Linked DNA regions of Homo sapiens: regions 1, 2, 4, 5 and 6 are each linked to region 3. The links are contacts of gene promoters, found by promoter capture Hi-C in blood cells and fetal thymus (Javierre and others, 2016). All regions are on one chromosome and are shown on one strand. The core of a region is centred on a gene start or on the middle of the fragment in contact, and the rest is flanking DNA. Distances in the headings are between cores, read along the strand shown. Region 1 overlaps SQOR (sulfide quinone oxidoreductase). Region 2 overlaps TERB2 (telomere repeat binding bouquet formation protein 2). Region 3 holds the start of AFG2B (AAA ATPase AFG2B). Region 4 holds the start of LOC105370802 (a long non-coding RNA gene). Region 5 overlaps DUOX2 (dual oxidase 2). Region 6 overlaps SORD (sorbitol dehydrogenase).

Region 1 (3,995 bases), core at 274-2,773, 270 kb before region 3:
CTTTCTTGTCAAAATGAATATAATAAAGCAACTAAATGCAGCATTTGCTCTTGGCATAGATAAGCCAGCGTAACACAGAAACAGTTTCACACGGTACCTTCTCATAGTCCAGCTGGATTCCGAGAGCAATAATAAGATATCGGTAGGAGATCTGCAACACAAAAAGACATTATTTTAGACCAGGACTCAAGAAGCATCAACTCAAGGACTGACTCAGGCCCCAGATGTGGTTCCATGTGGTCTAAGGGAGGCAGGGAAATATTATTAGCCCATAGAACAGATGAGAAAATCGAAGCAGAACAAGGTTGGGAGTCCTGCCCAGGTTCCCATTTTTTAATCTGAATGTCTTGGGGCTGGGGGAGGTGGGCAGACTGGCAGGGAGGGATGCGTGTCCACTCCCATCATGCCCTCTGCCGTCTATGCCTCACACCTCACTGCTTCACAAATATTTTGTAAGCTGCCTAGCCCCAGAAAGCTTGAGACAGCTATGTGTTTACACAGTGAGAGGCCACAATTATTTGTACAGTGCTTGTATTAACACTTTTTCATATTGAGAGGTAAGAGAAGGGCTTCCTAATCTTAAAAGACAATCCACTGTCTAAAATCTATGGGGTAGGCCAGGCACAGTGGCTCACACCTGTCATCCCAGCACCTTGGGAGGCCGAGGCAGGTGGATCACTTGAGCTCAGGAGTTGGAGACCAGCCTGGGCAACATGGCAAAACCCTGTCTCTGCAAAAAATACAAAAATTACCTAGGTGCGGTGGCATGCACCTGTAGTCCCCAGGGGGGCTGAAGTGGGAGAATCGCTTGAGCCTGGGAGGTGGAGGTTGCAGTGAGCAGAGATCACACCACTGCACTCCAGCCTTGTTGATAGAGTGAGACCCTGTCTCAAAAAAAAATTAAAAAAAAATAAAAAATATATATATAAAAAATATATATTAGTATATTGTATATTAAAAATAAAAAACTAAAATCTATTGGGTAATATGTGAGTCCCAAGCAAGTCTGACCTGTCATGTGGATTGGACCAATATCGTAATTGGGAGATTGCTCTTTTGAGCAATCTCAAGGTCATTGAAAGGCTATGACATAGTGTACCTGATCTTATTTAATGACCTGTATGGGATGAAAAAAGTCCCTTCTTCAAATACGGGTATTGTATGCATAAGTAGCATGATGGAAATGTGGGTTTAGGACAAAGAGGAAGACAAGTTTAGGCCAAAAAGTGTAAACAAAGTGGCCGTAAAGTACAAGAACTTGCCTAGAAAACTGGAGTTAGGAAATGATTGCAGTGAGACTCAGGAGCCCAGAAAGAAGAAACAGGTGGTGATTACCATGATCCTGTACTAAATGGCAGAGCAGAGCAAGCAACCCGAGCGAATCGCAGTTGGAGAGAGAGGACTCCAAGACCTGAGAGTGCTTGGCTCTGGCTGAGGAGCCAAGGGAAGTAACGTGCAGTCAAGAGGCCCTGCCCTGGCATCCGGGAGCTTCAGCCCCAAAGCCACCTCCACAGCAGGCTTTCCCACTATGACACGATCACCCTCACCACTGGCCCCTCCCAGGAGCTCCCCAGCATAGTGTGCATGAGGCTTCCTAGCACTTGTTCTCCCCAGCACACTGACCACTCCTAGAGGATAAAAGTTATGTCTTATTCCTTACATTCCTAGAATCTAGCACAGTCACTAAATTAAAGTGAGGAACTCTGTAATGTTTGGTGGGTGAATGGATAGATGAATGATTTCAGTTGCTTGTGAAAAGTACAATTTCTCTAAGTGGAAGATAATATAAGCATTTTCATCTGTATGTTTTGCCTATCCATAGAAAGATGATGTCTTGGCCAGTGCAGTGGCTCATGCCTGTAATCCCAGCACTTTGGGAGGCTGAGGCGGGTGGATCAAAAGGTCAGGAGTTCGAGACCAGCCTGGCCCACATAGCGAAACCCTGTCTCTACTAAAAATACAAAAAATTAGCTGGGTATGGTGGCGGGCGCCTGTAGTCCCAGCTACTCAGGAGGCTGAGGCAGAAGAATTGCTTGAATCCAGGAGGTAGAGGTTGCAGTGAGCCAAGATCACGCCACTGCACTCCAGCATGGGTGACAGTGAGAGACTCTATCTCAAAAAAAAAAAAAAAAAAAAAGAAAGAAAGAAAGAAATAAAGAAAGATGATGTATTGAAATTCCATCTTCTGTAGGAAAGGGCACCAGGCCCGTTAAATGGCCGGCCAAACCATGTTGAGCAATCCGGGCATATTAGGTAAGAGCTAGCATGGGGTCTGGTAGTGATGATCTACAGGTGAAACATATGACCACTGGAAACAAGAGGAGCTTTTGGTTTGTGCAGGCCACCACCAAACATGATGCAAATAATATTGATTATGCTCTATTTTATTAGAGCATAATATTCATTATGTCTAAGGACTAAAAACATGCCAGCTTAAGATTATGGGGAAAAAATCATTAAGAGAGAATAAACCCTCCATAGCAAGAAAGCAAGAAGAAAACCTCAAGCCTTTTGAATGAGTTCAAGTTTTCAGGTCAGATGACCTAAACCCCCAGGAACAGCAAAAGCTTATAGACAAGACTTTTGAGCAGTTACGCACAACAGTGTAGACCTTGCCAGAAGGCTGAATATCTGCAAGTATTCTCATATTACACAGGGGTCAGAAGACGTAAACTCTGACACGAACATCTTAGTAAATAGGCTATTAATCCTTTGCAAAACTCTAGACTCAACTACTAAATAGACATTTCATAGTAATTTTTTAAAAGATTAGCTGGGCATGGTAGTGTGTGCCTGTAGTCCCAGCTACTCAGGAGGCTAAGGTAGATCGGCTCAGAACTCTTGAGCCCAAGAGTTCAAGGAGCAGTGAGCTGTGATCTCACCACTGCACTCCAGCCTGGGCAACAGAGCAAGGCTGAAGGGAGAGGAGGGGAGGGGAGGGGAGAGGAGGGAAGGGGAGGGGAGGGAGGAAGGAGACAAAGAGAGGAAGGGAGGAAGGAAGGAAGGGAGGGAGAGAGGAAGGAAGGAAGAAAGGAAGGAAGGAAGGAAGGGAGGGAGGGAGGGAGGGGGAAGGAGAAGGAAGAAAGAGAGGGGAGGAGAGGGGAGAAAGGAGAGGAGAGGGGAGGGGATGGGAGAAAGGAGAGGAGAGGGGAGGGGATGGGAGAAAGGAAAGGAGAGGGGAGGGGAGAGGAGGAGAAAGGAGGGGAGGGGAGGGGAGGGGAGAGGAGAGGAGGGGAGGGGAGGGGAGAGGAGAGGAGGGGAGGGGAGAGGAGAGGAGGGGAGGGGAGAGAAGGGGAGGGGAGGGAAGAGAAGGGGAGGGGAGGAGAGAGGAGAGGAGGGAAGGGGAGGGGAGAGGAAAAGGAGCACCAACATAGGTTCACAGATGATAAGCCTGCTGCTTTCAATCAGCAATCAAGAACTGCTGGCATATAGTAGATACTCAATAAATATATCCTTTTCCTTTTTATGTATTCTTTTAAAAATAACAGCAACATTTATTGAGCATTTACTCTGTGCAAGGTGCTGTTCTAAGTGCTTCATATGGTTTCATTCATTTAACACTCACAACAACTTCATAAGGTATCTAGGTACTATTATTATTATTATTTTACAAATGAAGAAACAGACACAATTTGCTCACAAATATTTACTGAGCACCTTCTATGTGCCAGATATTGTGCTAGGTCCTGGGCATAAAACAATGGACAAGAAAGATACACTTCCTGCCCTTCAGGAACTCCATCTAGTGAGTGAGATAGGCATTACCAGATAATGACACAAATAATTACTAAATCACAGAATGCTGTGATAGCACATCAAGGGATAACCTGACCTAGTCTGGGAAGTCAAGGAAGGCTTGCCTGAAGGAGTCATATCGAAGCTAAAGATGAGTAGCAGTTAGCTAGGGATAGAGGTGGAAGCAGCATGTGCAAATGTCCTGGGGTAAGAAAAAGGCTGAGGCATTTGAGGAAATAGGAGGCCAGTATGGCAGGAGC
Region 2 (4,274 bases), core at 1,289-3,788, 430 kb after region 3:
ATATTCCCTTGTTTCTTTCCTACCTGAGTTTACTCTAAATTTTATTTTAAACTACCTGTTACCATGTTGTTAACTGGGTAATTCTGTAGAGGGAAGTACATCTGCTTTTCTACAACTGGAGTTCTTATAAAATGCTTTTCTGGGCTGTAAAATAAAGCATACAGAAAGTCACACATACATAGTATATATATGTCTATATGTATTACATTTATATTAAAGTATATTTATAAATAAATATTTATAATACATAATTACCTTTACTATAGTATACTATACCACATATGTATATATTTGGATTTGTTTTACAAGTAAGAACTTATTCCAGGCAATATATATAGTGATTTTTTAAAAATATATAGAATGCTTCACAAATTTGCTTGTCATCCTTGCGCAGGGGCCATGCTAACCTCTGAATAGTTCCAGTTTTGGTATATGTGCTGTCAAAGTGAGCACATATATAGTAATTTAATTGCTCTTTGATCAGACTTCAGTCTTAATGGGTGAAAATGTTAATTATGAACTTCTTTTGTGCTTTTAAGTAATATAAAGACCCATATAGATATTCTAGTGTTCTTAGCCGCTTCACAAAACAAGTATTTGAGTCTATAGAGTCCTGGGTCTTTTTCTCCATATCCCTGAAAGTACAATAATGCAATACTATATATTTAGACAAAATACACATATACATATACAGTATTAAATCTGCCAAAAGAAAAGCATAGTAGATTCTATTTTAAATGATCACAACATGTTTGTTAGTATTCAAATAATTGGGCATCTATTAACTAGTATTTCCATAGTTTACTATAACAAATAAAAACTGATGTCTAGGCGAGGCGCAGTGGCTCACACCTGTAAATCTGGCACTTTGGGAGGCCGAGGCAGGTGGATCACCTGAGGTCAGGAGTTCGAGACCAGCCTGGCCAACATGGTGAAAGCCCATCTCTACTAAAAATACAAATCAGCTGGGTGTGGTGGCACCCACCTGTAATCCCAGCTACTCGGAAGGTTGAGGCAGGAGAATTGCTTGAACCCAGGAGGCAGAGGTTGCAGTGAGCCAAGATCGTACCACTGCACTCCAGCTTGGGCAACAGAACGAGACTCCACCTCAAAAAAAAAAAAACAATTGATGTTCTAATTATACAATTATAAAATCTAAAAAAATGTATATTCTTATTTTTAAAAGCTAAAAGGTGGCCAGGAACAGTGGTTCACGCCTATAATCCCAGCATTTTGGGAGACAGAGGTGGGCGGATCACTTAAGGTCAGGAGTTTGAGACCACCCTGGCCAACATGGTGAAACCCTGTCTCTACTAAAAATACAAAAATTAGCCAGGTGTGGTGGCGAGCAGCTGTAATCCCAGCTATTCGGGAGGCTGAGGCAAGAGAATTGCTTGAACCTGGGAGGTGGAGGTTGCAGTGAGCTGAGATGGCGCCACTGGAACTCTAGCCTAGGTGACAGAGCCAGACTCTGTCTCAAAAAAAAAAAAAAAGCTAAAAGGATCTCAACTAAAAGATCCTATTTTCATTCATGTTTTGAACAGTCACTATTCAAAAATGACAATGTTTACTATACTTAGATCACATATAACTAACAATATAATTGTATAAAAATAAAAACCTCAATAATTAAAAATTGGAGTCATCCTTAAATTTATTATTTTCCTAAAAATCTAGAAGTACACTGAGTAATAGCAAAGGCTTTATTTTCCATTTTTAAGGCCTGGTGCAGTAGCTCACGCCTGTAATCCCAGCACTTTGGGAGGCCGAGGCGGGTGGATCACCTGAGGTCAGGAGTTCACAACCGGCCTGGCCAACATGGTGAAACCCTGTCTCTAATAAAAATACAAAAAAATAGCCAGGCGTGGTGGCACATGCCTGTAATCCCAGCTACTCAGGAGGCTGAAGCAGGAGAATCACTTGAACCTGGGAGGCGGAGGTTGCAGTGAGCCAAGATCGCGCCATTGCACTCCAGCCTGGGCAACAAGAACGAAACTCTGTCTCAAAAAAAAAAAAAAAAAAAAAAAAAGCTTCTATTTCATTTAAACTCTCCCAAAAGAAACTCTACTCATCAGGATGAGGTCCTACAAATAAAGCAAAATTGTGTTCCCAGAAAAGTCAGGGACCACCCACTATTTAATTCTGGCCAAACAATAAGAGATAAAGGGAAAAAAGGAGGGGGGGGGATGAAAAGGAAGAGATGTTGTGAAAGAAGGAATACTTTCATTATTTTATTTTACTATTTTTTTTTTCGGAGGACAGAGTCTTGCTCTGTCACCCAGGCTGGAGTGCAGTGGCATGGTCTTGGCTTACTGCAAGCTCAGGCCTCCCAGGTTCAGGCCATTTTCCTGCCTCAGCCTCCCAAGTAGCTGGGACTACAGGCACCCGCCACCACACCTGGCTAATTTTTTGTATTTTTAGTAGACACGGGGTTTAACTGTGTTTGCCAGGATGGTCTCAATCTCCTGACCTCGTGATCCGCCTGCCTGGGCCTCCCAAAGTGCTGGGATTACAGGCGTGAGCCACCGCACCCAGCTGGAATACTTTCATTATTAACAAATGATATGACTGTGCACCCTGAAGAGCCAAGAGAGAATCGATTAAAATATCCTTAGAATCAATTAAAATATCCTTAGAATCTTAAGGAATTCCAAATGGGTAGATATAAGACCAATATCCTCATTTCAATAACTCAGAGTGGCTGCTTTCGCTGGTTAAGTGGAGGTATCTTCAGGGAAATCTGAACCCGTGATGATCCCTGGCAACCCGATCTGTTTTTGGCTGTTTCTAAACATTAGGGAATGGAAACTCCGTGGCGGCTCTAAGTAGCCTGGTTTCAGGCTCTCATGGATGCACTGATAGAAGGTGACACCTGTATGCTAAATTATGAGAAAACCCCAGCAACTCCAGTTTCAACATATTGAGGAGATGCTTCTGTTGCTTCCCAATTTGCCCATATGAAGACATCAAAAAAGGACTTAAGGATTCAGAGAAAGAGAAATCTTATGTTAAAGAAAAGAATTAGATTTTTGGAAGAAAAGCTTATAGGAGCTCAATTAGATGAAGAAACAAGTTTTGTGGAATACCAACAAGTAAATAAGGCCTATTCTGTATATTGAAAGATTTGCATTGAGAGATGATTTAAAGAGCAAATTGGATAAAATGAGTAAACACAACTCTGAATCTTTAAAAGTATTGAATAAACAGATGCAATCTAAAGAAGTAGAACTCTAGCTAAGGACAGAGGTGGAAACTCAGCTGGTGATGAGGAATTTCAATCCACCTTCATCAAACTGGGAGGTGGAAAAGTTAAGCTGTAACCTGAAGATCCACGGTTTGGAACAAGAGTTGATGAGGAAAGAAGGTAACGATCTCAAAATAGAACTACTCAAAAACCAAACAAACCTATCTGTATGAGGAAGACAATCTTGAAGAGCAGAGATCTCTGAAGAGTAAGAACTTCAAGTGATAATACACAGAATGTATACTGGCAACTGAAGAGATAAATGTCTAATTTATATCTGGTGACTCAAATGCTAGCTGAACTATTAAGAAAACTGGAAACCCCAACTGCAATCAAGAAAGCCTGCACCTCAGTAAGATGCATTGAAGACCCTTGGAAAGACAGCACAAAACTGCACATGATGAATTTTACTGCAACATACACAAGACATCCCCTTCCCTGACCAAATGGCAAAGTTCTTTTTTATACTACATCTTCCTCTTTACCAGGAGATATAAAGGTTTTATCAGAGAAAGCAGTCCTCCAATCACGGACAGATAATGAGAGAGCCATTCCTAATGAGGGCACACACTCTTATGGCAGAAATTCTCTGGAAGATCATTTTGAGTATTCCCAATCCCTCCTGACTCAAGTGAGACAGCATTTAGGGAAATTAAAGTAAAATTTTGCCTTCTAACCAATGTGCCACTACTGCATTACTTGGATCAACATAATAAAAATTTCCTTTATAAGACTTAACTCTGAAGAGACTCATCATTTGATCACAAGGACACTGTCTCTCAGTGGTTCTCTCAAGAAATTACTTAACAAACTAAACGTAGATTTTGATTAAAATTTTGTAGAGTTCTTTAGTATATGCATTTGAACATACTGTATGATATTATGTAGTTTATTTCCAATATGAAAGAATACCCTCCAGCTCCATATTCTAAGAAACAGATATATGCTACTAATTTTTTTTTTTTTTTTGATACATGGCCTCACTCTTTCACCTTGGTTGAAGCACAGTGGAATGACCATAGATAGCTCA
Region 3 (4,172 bases), core at 1,328-3,827:
GTATCAATAAAAATAGATCAATTAAAAAAGAATTACTTCCAAAAAAATTTTATATATGTGTGTGTATACATATATATATTTTTTTTTTCTTTTTTTTTTTTTTTTGAGACACAGTTTCACTCTGCTGCCCAGTCTGGAGTGCAGCGGGCACCATCTCAGCTCACTGCAACCTCCACCTCCTGGTTCAAGTGATTCTGGTGCCTCAGCCTCCAGAGTAGCTAGAACTACAGGCATGTGCCACCATGCCCGGCTTATTTTTTGTATTTTTAGCAGAGACGGGGTTTCACCATCTTGGCCAGGCTGGTCTCGAACTCCTGACCTCAGGTGATCCACCCACCTCAGCCTCCCAAAGTATTGAGATTGCAGGCGTGAGCCACCGCGCCCGGCCAAAATAATAATATGTTTTTTATCCTGACAAACATGTACGACAATTTAGTGAACCACTTTGGAACTAGTACCGTGCACTTTACGTATACTTTAGATTCTGAATATACGAAAATCCTAATATTCCAGAGGAGTAACACTGGCTAGAAAGTTGCACAATGAAAATTCTATGTCATTTAACAAGTTTTTGTTATTTTTAAGAACACACAAAGTTCTAGAAGCCAGGTATAGATAGCTAGGTCCCTGCCCTTAAGGACACAGGTACTAGATAGTGCAAGGAAGAAATCCACTCAAGTCCTGAACTAACTGAGCTAAAAGTGTGTAATTATCATTTCTCTTTTGAATCCTATCACAAAATAGAAATATCAGTCACTAAATTTCAAACTGTTCTTTAGAATTCAAGTCAATTTAGGACCAAAGCTTAAAATAGGACAGCTCTGAATATTCAACCTCCCTGACAACTCAGGGAGCAGTTGTGGGTACCTCCTCAATTGTGGAATAGGATGCTGGTGTTATGACAAGGAATGAATAAATCCAGAAGAGTTAATGCCTGCTTCCATTTAGTTCTTCCCCACCTTCTCCCTTTTTATTTCAACACACTTACTTCTTGAGGCTATCCTTCTTTAAATTCTCATTCCAAAAAATGAGTTTAACACGCTTGTAGGTGACCAAAATTCTCTTAAGAATTAACATTACTGATTATAGGACCTGCACAACAAAATTAATCTGTAATGGACACCTCGCTTCCCAAAACAATTAGACTCTGGGGAAACAGGTCCTGACTCTCAGATCCTGACTCACAGGTCCTGACAATTTGACTCTGGGGAAATACAGGTCCTGACTCACAGATCATATATCGGCAGAGAACGTGTTCTCTGCATTGCAAAGAGCCCCAACTCCAACCTCACCGATGCTCAAACCTAAGAGGCAAACGCCTCCGGGGCAGCCAAATGGCGCCAGAAGCGGCCGAGGTTCCACCGACAGTGGGCAAACCCGCCAAGCCCATTCACCTCTCGGTCAAATCTCCCGGGCCTACGCAGCGCTGGGTCTAGAGCGTCCGGCCGGTTAGTGGCTCCCACAACCACGACCTCGCGGTCCCCACTGGCGCCGTCCAGCAGCGTCAACACCTGGGCCACTACGCGGCTCTCGGGTGCTCGACTGCCCCGCTGGGGACACAAGGCGTCCATCTCGTCCAGGAAGAGGAGGCTGGGTCCGCGGCTGGCCAGTTCCCGGGCGCGCTGGAAGACCCGCCGCACGTTCTCCTCGGTCTCCCCAGGCCGGGAACCCTGCAGCGCCGGGGCGCTGACTGCCAGCAGCTCCGCGCCCGCCTCGCGCGCCACGGCCCGCACCAGCTGGGTCTTGCCCACTCCGGGGGGCCCCGCCAGGAGCACCCCGCGAGGCACCGCTAAGCCCAGCGCGGTCAGGGCGCGCGGGTAGCGGAGCGGGAGGCGGAGGAGCTCCCGCAGCGAGTCGGCCGCCTCCGAAAGACCTCCCAGGGGCACCTCGGGCTGCGGCTGGGCTTCCGACGGAGGCTCCCCGCCAAGGCTGACGCGGGTACGAGGGGTGACCAGCCCAGCGGGATCGGGACTGGGCGTCCCGCCGACGATGTGCAAGGCAGCCACCAGGCCAGGAGCGCCTGGCGGAGCGACCACCACGTGGCCCAGGGAGATCGGTCGGTTTCTCAGCAGCTCCTGTGCCGCCTCCAGCACCGCGGCTGTATTCCGGGCACCGGGCGCGCCTGCCCGCTCTCGCAACACCGGCCACACGGCGACGCGCCGCAGGGGCGGACAGGGCACTAGGAGGAGGCGATTCAGGCTGAGACTCCTCCGGGATCTCGACGCCCCGACCGCCGCCCCGGGGCTCGCGCACAGCGGGTCCAGCTGCACAAAGCCGTCCGCTCCGTCCCGCCGAGGCCAGGCAGTGCAGAGGCAGGAGCCGCCGTCGGGTAGCGAGATCTTCACTGCCGAGCCCAAGCGCGCGCCCAGGGCGTGGAGGGCGGCCGGGCCCAGGCGGCAGCGCTGGGTGCCCCGGTCTCTAGCGTCTAAGGGTAGCAGCTTTAAGAGCGGCCCTTCAGGGAAGGGATCCGAGTCCGGAGCCATCGCACACAGATGAACCAGGCAGACGAAACCAGATTAGGAAACCCACCCGGCCCACAAAAAGCGGAACACCGAGCTCGCAGGCCGGAAGCAGATTGCGCGCATGCGCTAGGGCAGACTGCGTTGCTAGCAGCTGAGTGAAGGCCGAAAGGGCCAATGGAAACGTTAGACGACGCTCGGGCCTCTGGGTAGAGCGTTGGTGTCCGCTTTCGTGAAATCGAGTTGCCTAACCCAGAGCTTTCCCGAGATGGTCTTCGTTACAGGTGTCTGGGAGGCGGCTTAAGCTCACTTCACTAGGTCATTAAGCATGTACTTTGGTGGTTACATATATCTTGGAAGTCACCGGCTTTACATTCTGTTTTCCTGGCCTTCGAACTGGAGCATCAGTACTACCGCCGTTGGAATAGCAACCTAGAGACTTTGCTATTTTGTGAAGAAACTCTAACTATCCGCATGGGCACAGAATTTTGGGTGCTCTGGTGCAAATGTCTCAGGTGACTTGGCGTAACTGAGAATACAGCCTTGGGACCTTCGGTAATCGGGGTTCCAATCTGGGAGGTCCAGGCACAACCCTTCCTATGGGAAAGTACCAGCATAGTGGGAGGGAAGCACACGGTAGCGCTTAAAATCCCTTGTAGAGAGGAAAGAAGGAAAACTAGGCTACCTGATGGATTTGTAGCACACCAACAGTACATTTGTTCTGATTTCTGATATTCTTTTGAATATTCTTTGGCAACAAGTTAATCACTAAAGTTCATGCGATCAATGCTTACTGTCTAATTGGGGCACAACAGTACTAAGTCCTGTATTAGAGGCGATACCTATCTACGTTATTAAGACAACTGCCTGCTATTTTTTTTTTCCAGCTGCTTTCTGCCTTTCCCTTTCGCACAGGGAATTCCTTTTTATCAGCTGGAATACATTTTCTATCCCTCTTAATTGCCGTTAAAAAAGAACTACAGATACTCAAAGACAAGAAGATATACCTTGTTTTTATTTGACTTACATCTTCCTACCTCTATTTTCCCCACTTTCACTGCAACCCAAATTTGTGAGTTGACAAAACTGATATTTTAGAGTGCTTAAGTTGCTGGGAAGTTTTTTTTTTCTATCTATGCAAATAATCAATTACAGACTGTGTAGTAATATCTTATCAATGGGAAGTACTGTCAGATCTGGGATCTTAAGACCCATGCCAGTTCCTGATCTCATTCTGTCCAAACTTCATGGCAGACATGACAGACTTCTTGACTTGACAGTAACTTACCTGGTCTCAGCTGTACTTGTCTGCTTAAATCGATTCTGGAACAATTTAGGAATCAGAAAATAGCAGGAGGAGGTCTTGAAATGGATAAGTCACCCATTACTTCCTGTTTTCTTTTTTCCTCTTAATCCCATTGGCTTCAGTTCTTTTTGGTTTGGGGACTTTTAAATAACAGCTTTGCATTTTTTGAAATAAAAAAAAAGCCATCGTTTTTACCGACCCCTAAAGGTGTGAATTACATGCCTATCAAGTTATTTTATCAGAAGCCTGTACCTCATCGAGTTCCTTCTATTCAGCTCCAAGAAGCTTTAAGGATCTGGGAGAGGGAAAGAAGACTTACTGAGGACAGGATAACTGTCTTAAATATGTAAAGGGATCTCATGTAAAAGAGTTAGTAGATTTACTTATATTTACAGTGCAGAAATGGC
Region 4 (4,279 bases), core at 1,756-4,255, 300 kb before region 3:
CCCCTTCTCCCTCCATACAAGATGGACAAACAAGGGTACTGCTCACAGCTCTGCTCATTAGGAAGACTCCCTCTCCACTGTCCTTTAAAGCCACTCTGGAGTGGGCAGCAGTCCATTTTCCACTCCTACCAGCAGACCCAAGCTTTTCTGCAAGCATCACAGGGAACCCCCTCTGGCCCCATGCAGCCATGATGTGAGCTGGGGAAGGCATCAGTGCAGCAGAGGCAGATGCCCCAGGGATGGGGGCCAACTGTTCATGTAACACAGTTGCCAGGCTTCAGCCCAAACACCTCTAGACAGAATCTCCAGGTGAAAGTCTAGAAAGCCCTATTTTGAAAAAGCTGATTGGGATGTGCCACCAGGTTTGGTTACCAGAATCGTGCAGTTACCCAGCATCAAGGCCCAGTAAGGATACACAGAAAGGCTTCAGTGCATAACGTAGACAGAGTGTGTGCCCTGGCAGAAAGAATCAATGGATACAAAATGCCTCAATGAAGATTTGAAAACTATCACTTTTAAATCAATTGACAATTCAAAACTAGATTGTTTACTTACAGATGGGGCAGTCAGAAACAGCCTGTACTACTCCTCTATAAAAAAATAAGTAGAATTTTGGCCAGGCACAGTGGCTCACACCTGCAATCTCAGCACTTTGGAAAGCCAAGGCAGGGCGGATAACTTGAGGCCAGGAGTTCAAGATCAGCCTGGTCAACAAAGTGAAACCCCGTCTCTACTAAAAATAAAAATAAAAAAATTAGGCCCGGCGCGGTGGCTCACGCCTGTAATCTCAACGCTTTGGGAGGCCAAGGTGGCGGGGGGGGGGTGCGAATCACAAGGTCAGGAGATCGAGACCAGCCTGGCCAATATGGTGAAACCCCATCTCTACTAAAAATACAAAAAAAAGTTACCCGGGCATGGTGGCACGCACCTGTAGTCCCAGGCAGAAGAATCGCTTGAACCTGGGAGGCAGAGGTTGTAGTGAGCCCGGATCACACCACTGTACTCCAGCCTGCGCAACAGAGCGAGATTCTGTCTAAAAAAAACAAAAAGAAAGGAAAAGAAAAAATTAGCCCTGCGTGGTGGTGTGCACCTGTATGTAATCCCAGCTACTCAGGAGGCTGAGGCAGGAGAATCGCTTGAACCTGGGAGACTCAAGTTGCAGTGAGCTGAGATCACACCCCTGCACTCCAGCCTGGGCAACAGGCAAGACTCTGTCTCAAAAAAAAAAAAAAAAAAGAGGTAGAATTTAGTTAAACATGCAGAGAGACTACAGAAATTAACACCAGTGACAGGAAAAGCATGAGCAAATACACAGAGGTGAATGAGGCTTCAATCCTAAGTGTAACCAGGGAAAGGCAGAACCCAGGAGTAACCTGGAGGAAGCTCCAGGGAAGCTTGCAAATGCATGTGCTCATACACACCCCATGTGGCTTCCCAGTCACAACTCACCACAGCTGCTCATAGTTTTACAGTTTCATGCCATGTGTATTGATGACCAACGTCTAGATTTTACAAGATTCCCACATTCAAAAATTTTGCTTCCCGTTAGACAAGATGCAGCATAATTTTCAGTTCCAGAAATGTTCTCTTCCTACCTACAGCCCATATTCCCAAGGCTGCCCATCCCCTGAAATAGATAAATAAACAGAAAACAAGGAGGAAGAGAGAGACAAAAAACAAGTAAGGAAAGGGAGAGAGAAACTGAGAGGAGACAAACAGACTGAGAGGAGAGAGAGACACTGGGGAGGAGGAAGACAGAGAAACAAGATGTTTATGTGGGGTTTTTACATTTGTGGAAGGTGCCCCTGAGGAAAAGCGGGAACCACAGGACAACATAGAATAGAAAGGGGAAGAGCGCCCTCTTGTGGCTCTGACCTGACCTTGTCTCTTCCTAGCCACGTGACCTGGGCAAGTTACTGCTCCTTAAGCTTCAGTCCCCCGTAAAACACGGGTAAAATGCGCTCCCTCAAGATGGTCGTGAGGATTAAATGAGAAATTGGATCCAAAATGCCTAACCCGATGTCCGCCTCAAAGAGCTCGATCAATTGTAGTTATTAATGTTATTTTTATTACGATTGTGATTATGGCAATGGGTGAGCAAACTCACCTCAGCAGGAAATGGTATTGCCCTCCTCCCAGAACCCGTAGAATTTAACCAAAAAGACCATATTTAACTTCGAATTACTTTTGTTTCCTACTCTTACCCTTGTGTACATTAAATCTCACCTACCGAAAACATAAGCCCCACGTCTCATTTACAGCTTGTCTCCCAAGCGTCATGTCTCACGCTAGAAATTAGAAATCAGTGTTAATCAGCTTTGCTCACAAATGCTTTATAATTAAATATGGGGCTGAAGTAAAATAATAACATCTTCCTTTCTGTACATTCGTATAGTGGCAAGCACTTACCTTATATTATCTCACTTGCGCACTCCTTTGTTTAAGAGATGTTTATTGAACACCTCAGCCGGAAAAGCAAAGCCCCTGCTCTCCGAGGCTCGGCGTGGAGGAGACCGAGAGCCGTCGGGGGACTGGGTGCCGTAGCGGGGGGCGGGGGGGGGGGGGACCGGTTGCCTTGGCGGAGGCGGGGAACCGGGTGCCTTGGCGGAGGCGGGGAACCGGGTGCCCTGAGGGGACTGGGTGCCGTGGCGGAGCGGGGGGACTGGGTGCTGTTGGTGGGACGGGGGCGGTGCTGGGTGCGAGGGACGGGGGCGGTGCTGGGTGCGAGGGACTGGGTGCCGTTGGGGCGGAGGTGGGGGCGGGGAACTGGGTGCCGAGGAGAGAGAACTGGGTGCCATAGAGGGCCGGGGTACCGGGTGCGGTGGAGTGGCCGGGTGCAGTGAAGAGGGGGCCCAGTGCAGTGGGGAGACCCAGTGCAGTGGAGGGGACCGAGAGCGACGCTGCAGCACAGCAGCGTGAGCTGGACTTTAAGGACTGTTGTTCCCTGAGAGCGCAGAAGAAGAAATCTTTCAGGTCTGTAGTTAGCTCTGGGAAGGAGTCCAGAAGGATGAATAGGAGTTCGCCGAGCGGAAGGGGTGGAGCATTCCAGCAGGGGGAAAGCGCCTGGAAAGAGAGCGCACGGCGCCTCTGGAAGCTGTGGTCCTTGTGCGTTGTGGGCTGGTGGGAAGGTGGCTGGAGAGGCGAGCAGGGGCTCCTGGAACCGGGGGTTCGGGCCCCTTTACTCAGCGCTGACAGTGCGCAGGTGGTAAACATTCACAGCGTGGCGTTACTTCTAACTGGTCAAGCCAAGCGTTTCTAGGCACGGCCTATAAAAGGCCAGGAAGGACCGAGACCCCTCAGGTTTCGCAGCACGCAGGGGGCGTCCGCAGCCCGGGCTCCAGGAACGAGCCAGGCGCTTTCGCGCGCCCTCTCCGCGTACCATTACTTGCACGGTTCTGTCACAGAACCCACTGACAAGCCCTGCGACGTTGAAAGGGCTGTCGTAAGCAGGTGCTGGCAGGAACCATGGTGTTCTCTGGCAAAAAAAAAAAAAACAACAAACCCACCTATCCTCTCTGGAGGAGCAGCAGTTCCCTTTCCTGGCCAGCAGGATGCCGTGCCAGTGTCCTAGGGGACCCTCTCTGTGAACTCGGGCTCCCTTAGACTGGAAGCTCCTCCAAGGCTGGAGCCCGTCTTACTCACCTGAGGAACCTCAGCAGTCGGCCAGGCCCCATGCGATTGCTAATTGTAGAATGAATGAATAAATTAACACTGTTAATGGAGAAGACAGGATGTGTCCACCTTCCTATCCTTGTAGTAAATGTGGGTTTTTAAACCCCACACCTACACCCATTCTCGGTCCATGTGGCTCACACATGGCTGACCTAATCCTCTCCTTCAAGGATGAGCACATGACTGGTTCCGGGAAGCTCACAAACCCAGCTTGAATCCTCAAAGTTCTCACCAGATTTTTACTGTTAACAGAAAAGAGGCATTGTCTCTGGGTCTGTGGGCTCTAGACCAGGAAAGTCTAACCCTGCCCAGGCCCACTTGGTCAACATATGAAGTGAGTCTACCTGAGAAAGAAACCAACACAAAGAAAGTCAGAGCTGAAAGGTCAAGAAATTAAGAAATTAAGCTTCTTGATCCACCCATGCTTGATCTCCTTCCCAGACTTCCTAGATACTTAAACCAATGAAAGTTTTATTTTTATTTATTTATTTCTACTTGGCAAGTGAAATAATTTAGACAAATACATTTCTCCCCTTTCCTTTACTACCTAAGCAGAAATAGGACAGTGCTGAACAGGAAAAGAACTCCGAAGTAATACTGACATCGA
Region 5 (4,193 bases), core at 412-2,911, 300 kb after region 3:
TCAACCCTAATGTGGACCCCCAGGTCAGGAATAGTAATGATAATAATGGCAGCTAAAGCTTTCCTATGGCAATACTGTTCCAAACCCTTTACATATGTTGACTCATTTAATCTACATAATAATATTGTAAGGTATGTATAATCATTTTCCCCATTTTACTGATGACATAGTTGGTAAATCATAGAGGAGGGACTTAAATTCAGCCATCTGATTCCAGAATATATTCCTAACCACTGCATTGTACCATTCCTGCAGGGTGGCTTCTGGGTTGGGTGCCATTGTCCTGTTGCTGCAGGGTCCCACCCCAAGGGCTGTGTGCCCCTGAAGCTGCTAATCATTGAGGTCAGGCAGGCTGGTGATGGTCACAGGATATGGTCCTAGGGCACCTGACCGTGGTGTTACCGTGGGTAGGGACACACTGATCCTTCCACCAGACTTGTCCTGCCTGAGGGGGCTTGCCTAAGAAGAGGAAATCAGGCCTGAGCAGCAGCCAGGCAGCGGCTGAGGTTCTGTGCCCGAGGGATGGGGCAACAGTGGCTGCCCTCCGCAGCAAACATACGCTCACCCCTTATCTCCTGTGGTGCCCCAGGTGCTGGAGGCCACAGCTGCCCTGTACAACCAGGACCTATCCCAGCTAGAGCTGCTCCTTGGGGGGCTCCTGGAGAGCCATGGGGACCCTGGACCCCTGTTCAGTGCCATTGTCCTCGACCAGTTTGTACGGCTGCGGGATGGTGACCGCTACTGGTTTGAGAACACCAGGAATGGGTAAGGCTTGCCTGGGCCCCCACCTCAGACTGCTCCTCAGCCTGAGCCCCAGACCCTCTGTCTAGCCTTAGACAGCCCCTATGAGCCCTTGATTCCCAGTCAGCCCACCACACCCTTCCCAACCCCTCTGGGTCTCTCTTTTTTTCTTCTCTTCTCTTTTTCTTTTTCTTTTTCTTTTTTTTTTTTTTTTTTTTTTGAGGCAGAGTCTAGCTTTGTCACCCAGGCTGGAGTGCAGTGGCGTGATCTTGGCTCAATGCACCCTCTACCTCCCAGGTTCAAGTGATTCTCCTGCATCAGCCTCCCAAGTAGCTGGGATTACAGGCATGCACCAACATGCCCGGCTAATTTTTTTAAAAAATATTTTTAGTAGAGATGGGGTTTCACTATGCTGGTCAGGCTGGTCTCGAACTCCTGACCTCAAGTGATCCACTCGCCTTGGCCTCCCAAAGTGTTGGGATTACAGGCATGAGCCACTGCACCCAGCCCCTCTGGGTCTCTTTTCTCACCTGGGTCCTTGGGCCTGGGGTTGCTGGAGGCCTGCATCCCCTTCCCATCCCAGTGACTTCTACTTCCTCCAACTTAGGCTGTTCTCCAAGAAGGAGATTGAAGACATCCGAAATACCACCCTGCGGGACGTGCTGGTCGCTGTTATCAACATTGACCCCAGTGCCCTGCAGCCCAATGTCTTTGTCTGGCATAAAGGTGAGTGCCGTGGGAGAACACAAGTGAGTGACAGTGGCCAGAGAAGGATCAAGATTGAGGGTGCGGGGGAATCACTTGGTGCTGTCCAGGGAGCCAGGCACCTTCTGTGTTGGGCTAGGAGGCCTGCATTTGGCTGGCTCCCACAGCAGGGACCTCAACTAGCACACAAGCTACACCCTACAGTCAAGAAGGGGTGGATGGGGTAGATGCCAAGAGACAGGAAATGAATGGGGACTTTTTGAGGGAGACAGTTTCAGGGAGGTGGGCCTGGGGAAGACAGATGATACCTTGGTCCTTTATAGGATAGAGGGGAAAGAGGTCTGGCCACATAGCGGGATCCTCAGACTTTGAGGTCTTCCCTGCCCTCTCCCTCAGGTGCACCCTGCCCTCAACCTAAGCAGCTCACAACTGACGGCCTGCCCCAGTGTGCACCCCTGACTGTGCTTGACTTCTTTGAAGGCAGCAGCCCTGGTTTTGCCATCACCATCATTGCTCTCTGCTGCCTTCCCTTAGGTGAGCTCTTAGGCAGCCTCTCTGCAGACTGGCCCTGCCCCTCATTTCCTGCTGGCCTGAGGGGCTGGCTATTTGGTACCGTTTGAGACCAGGCTCAAGGAACCTCTGGAAGGGAGGGGCCATAGCCTAAGCCACAGTGGAGCTCTAGGTGAGGGGCTCCCTCCTCACTGTTCCTTCTGATCCACTTCAGTGAGTCTGCTTCTCTCTGGAGTGGTGGCCTATTTCCGGGGCCGAGAACACAAGAAGCTACAAAAGAAACTCAAAGAGAGCGTGAAGAAGGAAGCAGCCAAAGATGGAGTGCCAGGTGAGCAGGGGCTGGGCAGAGGAGGGAGGAGGGACGGAGGAGGGGAGAGACAGGAGTCTGGGAGAAAGAACCAAGTTACAGAGTGAGAGGAAAGCCAAGGCACCTTTAGGGCGCCTGCTCAGACTCACAGAGGAATTGACCTGAAGGCGGGGACCTGGGGACATCTGCTGAACTACCCGGCCCAATTATCCCTTCCCCAGCGATGGAGTGGCCAGGCCCCAAGGAGAGGAGCAGTCCCATCATCATCCAGCTGCTGTCAGACAGGTGTCTGCAGGTCCTGAACAGGCATCTCACTGTGCTCCGTGTGGTCCAGCTGCAGCCTCTGCAGCAGGTCAACCTCATCCTGTCCAACAACCGAGGATGCCGCACCCTGCTGCTCAAGATCCCTAAGGAGTATGACCTGGTATGGCTCGTCCTGCCTCCCCAGCCTGGGCTGCCCTCACACGACTCCATTATCACAAGCGAGGCCACCCTATCCTCAGCTACAGAGCTCAACTATGACAGCTGATGCTGGGGAGAGGGGCTCCTTTCAGAGGCCCCCAGACACAACCTGACCCCCTTCGTCCACACACCTGGCCCCAGCCTGGATGGATGGGGAGGAGTTTTCTCTCCTCCCCTCAACCCAAGATCCATTGAGGGGAGGCTGAAGCAGAAGGTCCAGCGAGCTCCCTGCGTCAGTGCCGCCTTCCTCCCACCCAGGTGCTGCTGTTTAGTTCTGAAGAGGAACGGGGCGCCTTTGTGCAGCAGCTATGGGACTTCTGCGTGCGCTGGGCTCTGGGCCTCCATGTGGCTGAGATGAGCGAGAAGGAGCTATTTAGGAAGGCTGTGACAAAGCAGCAGCGGGAACGCATCCTGGAGATCTTCTTCAGACACCTTTTTGCTCAGGTGCCATGACCTGTGCCTTTTGGAGATGGGTCCAGCCCCAGAAATGGAGGAAACCTGGGCTGCATAGAACGCCCCTGTGGGTGAACTAAGCTTCCGCTCTATGGCCTGGAGAGAAATAGCCTTGTTTGAATCCTGGCATTGCCACTTTACTTAGCTCTGTGACCTTAGGCAAGTCACATTATCACTGTTCTGTATCTCTGTTTCCTCATCTATAAAACAGTGATGAAAACTGTATCCATCCCATTGCATTGTTGTGAGGATTCGGTGAGATCGTCTACATGAGTGGTACACAGAGGTTGGCCTCTGGACCCGAGAGCATCAGCCTCACCTGGGAACATGTTAGAAATGCACCTACCCAGTTAGACTGAACCAGGAACTCTGTGGGTGGGGCCTGGCAATCTGTGTTTTAACAAGCTCCCCAGATGATTCAGATACACTCTAATGTTTGAAAAACATTGTTTTATGTACAGTGCTTATTGGCCCAAGTGCCAGGTATGTTGCAGGCATTTAACAAACGGTTGTGGCCAGGCGCAGTGGCTCATGCCTATAATCCCAGCACTTTGGGAGGCTGAGGCGGGCAGATCACCTAAGGTCAGGAGTTCGAGACTAGCATGGCCAACATGGTGAAACCCCATCTCTACTAAAAATACAAAAATTAGCTGGACGTGGTGGCTCACACCTGTAATCCCAGCTACTTGGGAGGCTGAGGCAGGAGAATCGCTTGAACCCGGGTGGCGGAGGTTGCAGTGAGCCAAGATCATGCCACTGCACTCCAGCCTGGGTGACAGAGCAAGACTCCATCTCAAAAAAACAAACAAAAAACAATAAATGGTTGTTACATGCGACTTTTAAACTTTTTGTGCAATGGGCAAATCATAGGCACATGGCAGCCTTATCTGAATTGGCAAGAGAGCACAGCCCCAGCCCCTTCCTGCCTGTCTACCACCATGTCTCTACATCTTCTGTCCCCAGTATAGGCTCTCTCACTTTCCATTCCCCTTAACTTCGCCCTTCCCCTTCCCTA
Region 6 (3,697 bases), core at 973-3,472, 380 kb after region 3:
GAATTTGAAATGGTATGTCCAGTTTGGGTTTTGTTTTGTTGTTAAAACATAATTAAGATAAAAGCAAGAAAGATGGTTCTTTGGGCTACTTACTGCTACCCAATTTCTCTTTTTCTGGAGGATTTTCACATTCTCTTTTCACTCTCAAGTGTCTCTGACTTGTAAGGGTTAAGTAGCCTGCATCTCATCACTATCAGGGTAATCTGGTTTAATCCAGCTCCTGCTTCATGACTATCAGCCCCTTTAATCTGATCACATAGAAGCAGCTGGCTCAGAGAAACAGACATGATGCACAGGACCATCTGAGCTGCCCATGTTCATGCCCTCTCATTATACCATCCGCTTCTCACCCCAAAATCTTAACAGTAAAGTATAGACATTTTGAATGTGCTGTATTACAGATATAGATTTATCTTATTTTTAAAAATAAATAAGAGTATTTAAAAATGCTTAGGTCAAAGCAATTCTTTTGACCTAAGGTATAATACGTTGCCTCAATGGACAAAAACTCAAGAAATATCTTCATGGACCTCCGAGTAATGTTTAAACTTGATGCCAATATATTAATTTTTCTGCCCTTTATAATTAAACAACATTAACCCATCATTCTGAAATTATTATTTTTCCCTTTAATTTATTGTCTCCTCATATAGCTGATCATAACAAAAATCTGACTACATCCCCTCCATGGTGTTGTTTCCTGGAAATGGAGCCTGTTTTGTTCCTATACTTCTCCCTGTTCAGATGCTCCTGCCTGAAGGAAGAGCCAGCTTTCAGGAAGAAGGGAGATAAAGTGCACTCAGAGGGTGATTGATGAACTGATTTGTAATGCAATGTACAGAAATTGAGAGGAGCATTTAGAAATGTTTATATAATTTTTTTGTTTGTTTTTGTTTTGAGATAGAGTCTTGTTCTGTCACCCACGCTGCAGTGCAGTGGCATGATCTTGGCTCACTGCAACCTCTGCCTCCCCATTCAAGTGATTCTCGTGCCTCAGCCTCCTGAGTAGCTGGGATTACAGGTTGTGCACCACCACACCCAGTTAATTTTTGTATTTTTAGTAGAGACAGGATTTTTGCCATGTTGGCCAGGCTGGTCTCAAACTCCTGGCCTCAAGTGATCTGCCCGCCTTGGCCTCCCAAAGTGCTGGGGTTACAGGCATGAGCCACCGTGCCTGGCTGTTTATAGCATTTTGACGTGACACAGCATTCAAATATATTGATGCAAACATATCAGTCCATGGCCGACTGGAAAAAGTAAAATTGGCCCTTCATTGTGGACAGTTTGTAAAGCCCTGTATTAAAGTTCCCAGCACATGCCTGGAATGCAGTAGGCAGTCAATATATTAATTCCCCGCATTTCCTTACCATTCGAGTGAACCCTACATTGTAAAAACAAGCTTCCCACCACCCCCACCACCAAACATAGCTTCTATGGGGTAAAAACTAATTTGACTATTTTATATTCTAACTTCATGAATCCATAATTCATTTCCTAATTAAAAGCTTCTGGGTCTCAATAGACTGATCAAAGGGGCATACAGTAATTAAACTGGTAAATACAGTGGAAAGCAAGATTATTGCCTGGGCCCACATTATAATAATTTGGTTAGGAAAACTGTTCATGTGTTTGAAGGCCCTGGTCTCCATCCACCTCTTTTTAAGCTGATATGGTTTAAGTGTCCGTCCTCAGGGGCTCTGGCTTCCTGCTTATCTCCACAGTTAGCACATACCATTAACAGTGTGCTAAATGCTGTGCTAGGCCTTTCACACGCACAATTGGTTCCACTGAATCCTCATACAACCAAAGATGAATACTACCATTATCCCCATTTCACGGGGAAGTTGAAGTGGAAAATAATTTGTTGAGTCATACAACTAGCAGCAGTAGAAGGGGGACTAAACCCCACTCTGGCTCCCCAGCCTGGTTTGGGAACTTCGTACTATTTCCATTTAGAGAGAACCCCAGCAAGCTGACACTGTTTGCTTCTTTATACATCAACTTGGTCATCAGTCCCTTTTCCTCCCTCCAACTCTCAAACTTTCTCTATTCAAAATGAAGGGAAAAGCGAAAATCCTTAAGTCTCAGATTGTTGTTTCGTTTTGTTCTCCTAACTATAAAAGAAAACCACTGGTCTTAGTGTGTGTCTGACTTACCACCCAATTTATAAATGCTCCTCCTTGCTGTGGTCAAGGTGATCATTAACTAATTAGTAGGTGAGGAGTTTAATTTTTTGTTCCGTGCAGCCATACATCAAGAAAGAAGAGAATGGTGCAGTCTCCTTAGGCAGTAGGGAGGCTGTGTGGTAGGTTTCCTTCCTGCCAGTTAAAGGACAAGTAAAGTGGACTAAGGTCGCATTCCCCCACAGAACCACTGCCCCAGACGCTGGCTGGTTCCTGGCCTTATCTCAAGTAGGATGGCAGCAGTGGGAAAGGTTGAGACATTGCTTCCTGCTTCAGAATGCTTTGGAAACCTGCTTCAGATTTTAGGAATGATTTATACACTTTTTGGAAAGCAAATAATGATGTAAGTTAAATGATACACTTTTCCCTTGAAAATTTATACATTTTTTGAAAAGATCTTAGGAATGAGAGTTTCCCCAAACAACTCCCTTCATAGGAGTTCCTGAGGCACTGAACCATTTTATCAGTAGACCCTGCCCCCCTGTATACCTAAATCGGCCACAGTTTGCTGGGCTGCAGTTCCCCAGCCAGCCAGAAATGGAAGGGTTTTTAATCTGTGGCTGGTGGTCTTACATCAAAAGAAGAAAACAGTCAAATTCTCCCCACTTCCTCTTATCTTTTTTGTAGTTCATATCCAACCAAGGCTTTTTTCCCCCCAAAATGCATTTGCTGACAATTTATTAAGCCCAGGAAATTCTGGGTTTCATTTTGGTCCTCTTGCAGAGAGGAAAATGGGTGGTTCCCCTCAAAGCTTCCCCAGGATTGTTCCTCCTAGTTGCTATCTCTGGTTTACTACTGACCCCAAACCCAAGCCACTGAGCCTATTTGTCTTAAGGAAAAGATGGAGGAGCAGTGATACCACACTCGGGGTCTGGGTTGGGCACTGTGGAGGTGCTGGTGGAAGACCATGCCTGAGAAGGAGTGGCGAGGGCCCAGAAGGTCTGTGTTGAGCTGCAGGTGCACCTGAGGCAGCACAGTGGGTCTCCTCTGCTGACAACTCTTTCTGCCCTTTCCCCTCCAGTGTTGGGGCTCTCTCCAGGGTAATGTCCTCCTCTTCTTTCCTTCTCACTCTACATGGTTCACTCAGCCCAGGCAAGCTCAGCCATCCATAATTCCCCATAGGGCACTATTTGGGACAGGACAACTCTTTGTTGTGCAAGATAGCACTATGAACTGAATAAAGTCCGCAGTAGTGCTCCTCAGTCATCGTGACAACCAAGCCTCCCTGACACATTTCCAAATGTCTCCTGGGTGGCGGGGCAGTGCAGTACTGCTCAGTAGAGGAGCAAAGGACTCCTGAGTTTACATTTCCACCCCTGATAGTATCCCTGCACTCCAGACCCCTGCACCCAAGGAAATTTCTCAAAGGCACCTTGTGTCCTGTCCCAGAGACATCTTTTTTTTTTTTTTTTTTTTGACATAGTTTTGCTGTCATTCAGGCTGGAGTGCAGTGGTACGATCTCAGTTCATTGCAATCTCTGACTCCCAGACTCAAGCGATTCTCAGCTTCCCAA

Evidence for each region. Contacts are between HindIII fragments. The CHiCAGO score rates a contact against its expected background, and 5 or more counts as called.
Region 1: a fragment that was not itself captured here is called in contact with the fragment with the promoter of AFG2B in region 3 in 1 of 17 cell types (M0 macrophages); the score reaches 5.9 in M0 macrophages.
Region 2: a contact is called between a fragment that was not itself captured here and the fragment with the promoter of AFG2B in region 3, in 1 of 17 cell types (M2 macrophages). The highest score is 7.5, in M2 macrophages.
Region 4: a fragment that was not itself captured here is called in contact with the fragment with the promoter of AFG2B in region 3 in 2 of 17 cell types (monocytes and total CD8 T cells); the score reaches 6.2 in monocytes.
Region 5: a fragment that was not itself captured here is called in contact with the fragment with the promoter of AFG2B in region 3 in 3 of 17 cell types (naive B cells, activated CD4 T cells and total B cells); the score reaches 7.5 in naive B cells.
Region 6: a contact is called between a fragment that was not itself captured here and the fragment with the promoter of AFG2B in region 3, in 1 of 17 cell types (total B cells). The highest score is 8.1, in total B cells.

The regions. Positions count from the first base shown.
Region 1 is chr15:45,666,084-45,670,078 of GRCh38, reverse strand. SQOR (sulfide quinone oxidoreductase) reads right to left here. Exons shown (of 10, transcript NM_021199.4): 4 at 98-151. Among named protein-coding and RNA genes, the nearest start is that of SQOR, 33 kb to the right of the region's middle. The HindIII fragment of the contact is 2,092 bases long and covers 478-2,569 here.
Region 2 is chr15:44,969,737-44,974,010 of GRCh38, reverse strand. It overlaps TERB2 (telomere repeat binding bouquet formation protein 2), which reads right to left. Exons shown (of 7, transcript NM_152448.3): 6 at 56-144. It also overlaps the pseudogene LOC100187725 and the pseudogene RNU6-966P. Among named protein-coding and RNA genes, the nearest start is that of TERB2, 15 kb to the right of the region's middle. RefSeq lists a silencer at 1,779-1,957. The HindIII fragment of the contact is 1,011 bases long and covers 2,033-3,043 here.
Region 3 is chr15:45,400,741-45,404,912 of GRCh38, reverse strand. AFG2B (AAA ATPase AFG2B) reads right to left here and starts at 2,577. Exons shown (of 8, transcript NM_024063.3): 1 at 1,395-2,577. The coding sequence starts at 2,483. It also overlaps a transcript of GATM not described here. RefSeq lists silencers at 1,745-1,894, 2,285-2,364 and enhancers at 2,445-2,604, 2,995-3,064, 3,075-3,124. The HindIII fragment of the contact is 3,246 bases long and covers 807-4,052 here.
Region 4 is chr15:45,703,420-45,707,698 of GRCh38, reverse strand. It overlaps LOC105370802 (a long non-coding RNA gene), which reads right to left and starts at 2,504. Exons shown (of 5, transcript NR_135680.1): 1 at 2,410-2,504. The HindIII fragment of the contact is 2,150 bases long and covers 1,931-4,080 here.
Region 5 is chr15:45,104,619-45,108,811 of GRCh38, reverse strand. It overlaps DUOX2 (dual oxidase 2), which reads left to right. Exons shown (of 34, transcript NM_001363711.2): 12 at 1-23; 13 at 590-765; 14 at 1,349-1,467; 15 at 1,843-1,980; 16 at 2,171-2,284; 17 at 2,485-2,687; 18 at 2,984-3,169. Among named protein-coding and RNA genes, the nearest start is that of DUOX2, 7.5 kb to the left of the region's middle. The HindIII fragment of the contact is 3,201 bases long and covers 61-3,261 here.
Region 6 is chr15:45,025,527-45,029,223 of GRCh38, reverse strand. All of the region lies in intron 1 of SORD (sorbitol dehydrogenase), which reads right to left. Among named protein-coding and RNA genes, the nearest start is that of SORD, 4.2 kb to the right of the region's middle. RefSeq lists a silencer at 3,228-3,516. The HindIII fragment of the contact is 1,429 bases long and covers 1,508-2,936 here.